Regions from separate parts of the Homo sapiens genome. Here region 2 is linked to region 1. The links are contacts of gene promoters, found by promoter capture Hi-C in blood cells and fetal thymus (Javierre and others, 2016). All regions are on one chromosome and are shown on one strand. The core of a region is centred on a gene start or on the middle of the fragment in contact, and the rest is flanking DNA. Distances in the headings are between cores, read along the strand shown.

Region 1 (3,390 bases), core at 237-2,736:
TTGTCAGAGTTCCGAAGGACTGACTTTGAATTTGCCCAAGAGGAGCCCCAGGTCTGGCCCAGGGTGGAGCCAGAGGCTGCCCACTTACAAATTTGGGGATTTTTCAGGCCAGTGGCCCCTTATTGCAGTGGTGCGTGACTCAGTTTTATTAGGTACTTGAATAAGTACTTTCAGTTTTATCAGGAATGCATTTGCTTTAAGGTATTCGAGAGAAAAAAATAAACTTAACTTGCCTATCCATTACTTCAAAGTTTAAAAAATGGGATGACTGAAAGACAATAGTTAAACTAGTGCTTATGAGTACAACAAATCTCAAAGGCAGCACATGAATGACTGAAGTTTGGGAATTCTGGAGTCTGCCCTTTGACCTCCCTGTATGAGGGAAGGGGTGAAAGAGAAATGTCACCAGTCTATTTGTAGGATGAGAGAGAACTGCATCCATTTGACCTTTGATGAGAGAATCGCCCCAGTGTTCCTAGAGGATGGGTGTGACCTGCCCCAGTCTGTCCTGGGATGAAAAAGAACTTTTTCCAGTCTGCCTGGAAGCTAAGAGAACTGCACCCCTCCCACTTCTTCCAGGAGCACTAAGTGTCAGGAATGCAGTGTCTGGAGATTTTGGCCACTCCCTAAATGCAGCCGCTCCCCAAATGCGCTGCCTCATCTTCAAAGTGCAGGGACAGCAGCTCTGAGATGAGGCCACAGGGCTCCAGGCATGTTCCTGGTCCTCACTGCAGTTTATGGGGGATCGGCTGGACACAAGTACAAGGCAGAGGACAGTTAGGGGCACAGGGGTCCCACTGAAGGCCAGCCCCATGCAGAGGATGCTCTGGGGTCCTCTGTCCCTCCCCCGTGGCTGGGGTGGGGAATTGCAGTGCTAGGACCACTGGCCCTTGGCAGGTCACACAAGAAGCTTTGCTCGTCTACACCCCAGTGTGGCCTTCACACTGCAAAGAAGGCTGTTGCCCCCACCCCAAAGGCCTGGGCATTAGGATCCTTTTTCATTTTTGTATTAATGTACAATGTACATACAGTATATTGCATCTAGTGTTCAGTTCTGACTTGAGAGACACACACAGCCAGGTAACCAAGATCACGTCAAAAAATCTTTCTTTAAAGTCCCACAAGTGACTCTAACGTGCTGCCAGGGTTGGAAGCCAACCCACGGAGTCTTGTCTCCTGCTTGTGGGTGGAGGGGAGCTTCCGAAGGAGGCCAGCGAAGAACCCTCCAAAGCGGGGAGGACCCAGCATCCGGCCCCTCGCCCCTGGCGTGCAAACGGGTCAGACCGTTAGGCACAGCCTCCTTGTGGGGCGCAGGGACAGGAAGCAGGGTTTAGAGCACCTCGAGGGGGAAGGAGTGGCAAGTGCGGAGGGCAGCCCCTCCCAGGACTAGAACCCACTTCCTACTTTACACCAGCACTGGAGGAGGCTGGTGGGGCAGGGCGGGGGCGGTGGGGCCTCCCCTAGCCTTCCCTCCCCCTCTCCTTCACTGTCCTTCCAGCAGGCACAGGAAGGTGAGGCAAGGTGTTTCCAGCCGGCAGGATGGAGGACGAGGAAGGCCCTGAGTATGGCAAACCTGACTTTGTGCTTTTGGACCAAGTGACCATGGAGGACTTCATGAGGAACCTGCAGCTCAGGTAGGCCCAGGGCAGGAGGCAGTGGCTCCCCTCCTCCAGGGTCTCCCACCTTGCGTCCTCGCAGAGACCTGAGGGAAAGAGGAAGGCACGCTGCTGTCCAAGGGAGGGGGCAGTGGCACACACCCACCCAGACCAGATGGGGCTGAAATGAGTGCCTCAAAGCACGGCCCCAGGGGACAGGAACAGACAAGGAGGCAACTGTCCCTGTCAGGGCTGGCAAGTCAGCACCGGAGCTGCCCACCACCTCAACCCACCCCTGCCTCCCACACAGTCCAGGCATCTTCTGCCCCTTCTTTCCTGCCCGACGGGGCCAGGGCATGACACTTCTTGGACAGATACATACCAGGCACTATCTTTCCAGGAGGGACCAGGGGCACCTCCCTCCAGCCACTTCCCAGCCAGTTGTTGATGCTCCCTCGATGCATCTCATCCATGGGGCCTGGCCTGAGCCCTGGGGACACTGAGATGAAGCAGTCAGGCTCCACCCTAGGGTCCAAACATTCCCACCAAGTTGAGGTGACATTCTCCTGGGGTACATGGAGTATCACAGGACACAGTTGGTAGAAGTGATATTGGAGCCCAATTTACCATCAAGGAGGGCAGGTGGAGGGCAGGGAGAAGCCCGGGAGGTAGGGGCATGGCACAGTAGGGTGGCCATACAGGCAGCTGGGCTTCCTGCCAGGACTCCCAGGGAGGGGCAGAAGGCCACTCGCTGTGTACTCCGGAAGCTCCCTGGGGAGAGCTTGGGGACCAGGATCCCCACTAAGCACCGAAGGCAAGAGACCACGAGCCTGGCTCAAAGAGGAGGGCTAGCCAGGACGTGAGCTAAGCACTTTGTGCACATTGTTCTACCTCATTCTTATAAAATGAGCTTATGAAACATTGTCCTCTCTATTTTGATGAGGAGAACACTGAGCCCTGGAGACGTGGGTGACTTGTGCCCTCATCCCCAGCTTGTAGGAGGATGGGAGCTAGGCCCAGGAAAACCCATGTCAGAGGTGGTGGAGAAAGAGGAACCTCAGGACAGGCCCACCCAGGACAGGCTGCCGGGAGACAGGGCCATCCAGGGAAGGGTGGGTACCACACACCAAGGGGAGATGGGTCTGAGGGGCAGGCCTGCCAGTCCTCCTCCCAGGGGCAGAAAGGTCAAGAGAAGGGCAGACATCCACCCCCACTGGGGACCAGGTTTGTGAAGGAAAGGGTCAAGAAGTCTGAGGCTGTGCCAGGGGAGAGGCAGCAGCCACTGGCCACAGGCTGGGGGGTCGGGGGTGTAAAGACAACGACATCAACTCCCTCCCTGTCATCTGGGTGGGGCTGGGTGGGGTCCCCTTTTGTCTCTGGGTTCCCGCCCAGGCCTTGAGACAGGAAACAGCCGAGGAGGCCCCTCCTTCCCCTCCCAGCCCAGTCACTTCTCAACCCCATCTCCCCATCTGCCCTGCGGGGTTCACCCCAGGAGCCAGCCCTGACTCACGGCACCCAGTGCAGTCTTGGGCAAGTCTGTTTCCTTTGCAAAATGAGTGGTCATGTTTCCAGTGACCTTGGGATCCCTGGGGAGACCACTGTGGACCCCAAACTCTATGCCGCAATGGAGACAGTCTCTGAGTGGCTCAGCTCACCCAGGATGGCACCAGGGAGACGCAAGGTCAACACCTGCCCCCTTCTTCCTTCTCCACTCTCAGCCCGTCAGGGTGGGAGCGCTGGCCTACTGGGGCCAGGCCCTGATATGGGCTCTGGCGAAAGGCCTGTGGGTGCCTGT
Region 2 (3,390 bases), core at 604-3,103, 510 kb after region 1:
TGTGCTTTGTTTTTTTGTTGCTCCCATAACCAATGTTGGGCATCAAGATCTGGCCCTTGAATCTTCTACGAACCCTGTTGTCAGTGCCTCTGGGTTTCCGCCAGTTACGCTTAATTTTGACATATTGGTCTGACTGGTGCTGGATGAACTTCTTGGTTCTCTTTTTGACGATCTTGGGCTTCACAAGGGGTCTGAGGGCGGCCATGATGCCGAGGAGGAGATGGCTGCCACCTCCGTAGGCAGCGCCGAGGAAGAGAGCCTTTTCTTTTCTTTTTTTTTTTTTTACTGAGGTCTTAGTTTTTTTCTTATATACAATAGGGTGATAACAATTAAAGGGCTGTTGTAAGGATTAAATGAGATAGTATAATTAAAGCTTTCAGTATAAGCTAAGTACTAGGTTTGGTTCTTGGATTCAGCAAGTATTTATGGAATACTTTTTTTTTTTAGGGGCTTGGGGCAAATGGGGTTTAAGATTGCCAGCCTGCCCCAGTCTTTTGCCTCGTCCCTGCCGGGCCTCAATGGGGACCTTGATCTCTGACCTGCCCCTTGATCAAAGAGCTCCACCTCTGACTTGTCCCTTGATCTGGGAGCTTGGGTTCTAACTTGGCAGCCTGGATCAGGGTGATTGGCCTCTGGCTGATGCAGAGGAACCTCTGGCTTCTTTTTCTTCCTTTGAGCAGTTGTACAATTTGAGTCAGGAAGGGAGAGAGGATGGCTTCTTTCTGGCCACCCACTAGCAGAAGTCTTGGAGTGGGCGCTTCGCCGTTCCCATGTTAAATGAGCAGTTCTGATTCTGTCTGGGCACATTCTACTTCTGAAAGCAAAATTTCACACCGATCTCTGTGGGTGGTATTATTGTGAGGACCATTGGAAGGGACTCTCCTTCCTTCCCTCCTTTTCTGTCATAACTTTTCTATCTTTATTGACCCATTCTTCAGTAGGGGTGAGATGCTGGTTCAGCAGGCCCTGTAATAGCAGCACACTCTGCCCTGCAGAGGTTGGAGGAAGTGACACCCAACCTTCTTCACCACGGGGGGCTGGTGAGGGTGAATGTGGGGAAAGAAACCAGTCAGTGCCCCTCAATCTTCACTGCTGATAGCTGAGCCACACCATAGATTTGGACCAGAATCTTCTCCCAAGGAGGGCCAGTGCTCTCTTCCCATGACCCTCATAGCAGAGTCTGAAACAGCAGTCTGAGTGGGTCACACGTTCCCTCACCCGGTGGGGCTTTGTGACCTAGTGATTCATGGGAAGCGGGGGTGTTTGCACACTTTCTCCCTCCTGCCCACTAGCATGCCTCCTGCTTTGCAGGCTCACCCAGAGCTTTCTATTCTGCTGCTGCTAGAGCTTCCCAATAAGTGGGTAGGTAGGACTAGCTGTGACCTAGAAAACACTTAGCATTATCCAAGTGTCCCTAGTGAAAAGCTGAATAAAGCAGGAGAAATGTCACTTTGGATGCTCAAGTTCTCCTAGGAGAACAAACTTCCAGACCTTTTGTTTCCCCTAATTTTTGAAGGCAGCATGGCTGAGCCCAGAACCACATGGCTGAGCCTGGTACCAGAGTGGCTGGCAGGATGAGCACTTCACAGATTGGTGTGGTGACTAGCAGCCTCCTTCCTGAGGCCTTTGGGGCCCTGCTGACTGTACTGGGTCTTAAGTAAGAAAAACAGAAAACTGTTTCTCTCTCCAAGGAAAACAAGCAATAAACCCCATGTACATACCTCCCTGAGTTCTGAGTAAGAAAGGAAACCAGGCATGGTGGCCCCAGAAGTGTTCAGGGCATATGGGTATGATCCCTTGCCCGAGTGGGTTGGCAGTGTCCTCTTGAGAGGCTTTTTGTGTCTGCTGAGTATTTTCCAATTTAGGGTGGCTCAGGGGATGGGATGAGGATTCTTCAACTTTTTCCTTGTTTTTTAGCTTTTTTCCTTCTCAAGTTGGCCCTGGGTGGCTGTCCCTGCTTCTAGGGGCCATTGTGAGCTTTACATTGGTGCAGTGCTGGCTCCTGGCAGCAAGCATCTGGCTTATACCACTGAGATGTCTCATGTTGGGTGGCTGTGCCACCCAGGCTTCCATGGTCCTGGGTTCACTGGTCATTTCTTTCCCAAAAGTATGCATTCACGAGGTCAGCTTTGTATCTTTGGGGCCAAGCATCTGTGATTTTGCTGCTCTAGCTTTTATTTAGATTTGACTCTCTTGCACCCCTTTTACCCTGGAACTTCCTATTTTTCCGTAAAAGTTTTTCTTTATTTTTTTTAACTGGTGTTTTGAAAAATGCTGTATGCATATATCAAAAACAATTTGAGAAGTACGGTGGGGTGTATAGTAGAACTTTGGTGGTCTTCTCACTCACGGCCCTGTCTGTGGCTCTGTTCTGCTCTACACAGTGAGGTGACTGTGTTTATCCACTCTACCCTAAGTGGCTGCTGTTACCAGTGTCTGGTGTACCGGTCAGGAGATAGTCTATGAAAATACAAGCATACTTATCTATGCCTGTCTTCTTACTTTTTTCTTTTTTGGTTAATACAGTTTATTTTTAGACTGACTTTAGGTTCACAGCAAAATTGAGCAGGAAGTGCAGAGAGTTCTCCCTGTGCCCATGGCCTCCACGATTAATGTCCCACATTCTCTACTTTTTCAGTTTTAACCTTTCCACAGATGATAGTGGCTGTATACACTGCTCATCCACATCAGTCTCAGTGGGTGTCTGCTGTGTTCTCTAACGGCTGTTCAGAAGTTTCCCACTTCATGTGGACAGGCCTTAAGGTGTTGATGTTTTACTGTGTGAACTGTGCTGTGGCTGTCTGTATTCTCTCAGCCTCATTTCTGGTGGAATTACGGGAGAATGATGTGAGATGACTGTGAGATTTTTAAAATCACTAAAAGTTTCTTTATAGTAATATAGAGGAAAATTAGAAAATACATGTAAAAAACATTAAGATTAAGGAAATTTAAAATGCTCTCTGGAAATGTCCTGGGGATGTCCCATGCTCGTGTGGGGTCTAGGGCACAGGGCGGAGAGCAAAGCATAGGTGTTTGAACTGGTGCTGCTGAGGTGGAGCAGAGCACATGTGTCAGCTTCTGTTTACACCTTCGTTTGGGCCCTTCTGCTCCCCTGCCACTTCCCTGAGCCCTGCCCTCGGCTCGGCCCCTGGGATGGATGTGGGTTATTGTTTTTGGCACTGTAAGAGGAGGGAATTTAGAATAAGGAAAAGAGGGTTGAGATTCTGTACTAAATGCCAGTATTGTTGGGTGTCTTAATCTAAAAGCTGGAATGGGGATAACGCTCCTTCTAAAAGGGTATTGGTCCATAGAATAAGAAAAAATTGAAGCTTATGTAAAGATTTGGTGGGCCGGGCATGGTGTCTCACACCTGTAATCCTAGCCCTTTGG

The links. The method cuts DNA at HindIII sites, captures the fragments that hold promoters and counts their contacts. A CHiCAGO score of 5 or more calls a contact.
Region 2: a contact is called between a fragment that was not itself captured here and the fragment with the promoter of MYO1G in region 1, in 1 of 17 cell types (total B cells). The highest score is 5.9, in total B cells.

What each region holds. Positions count from the first base shown.
Region 1 is chr7:44,977,111-44,980,500 of GRCh38, reverse strand. It overlaps MYO1G (myosin IG), which reads left to right and starts at 1,486. Exons shown (of 22, transcript NM_033054.3): 1 at 1,486-1,634. The coding sequence starts at 1,540. RefSeq lists enhancers at 1,104-1,153, 1,184-1,253 and a silencer at 1,454-1,543. The HindIII fragment of the contact is 4,854 bases long and covers 913-3,390 here.
Region 2 is chr7:44,464,712-44,468,101 of GRCh38, reverse strand. All of the region lies in intron 2 of NUDCD3 (NudC domain containing 3), which reads left to right. It also overlaps the pseudogene RPL32P18. Among named protein-coding and RNA genes, the nearest start is that of NUDCD3, 24 kb to the left of the region's middle. The HindIII fragment of the contact is 2,956 bases long and covers 376-3,331 here.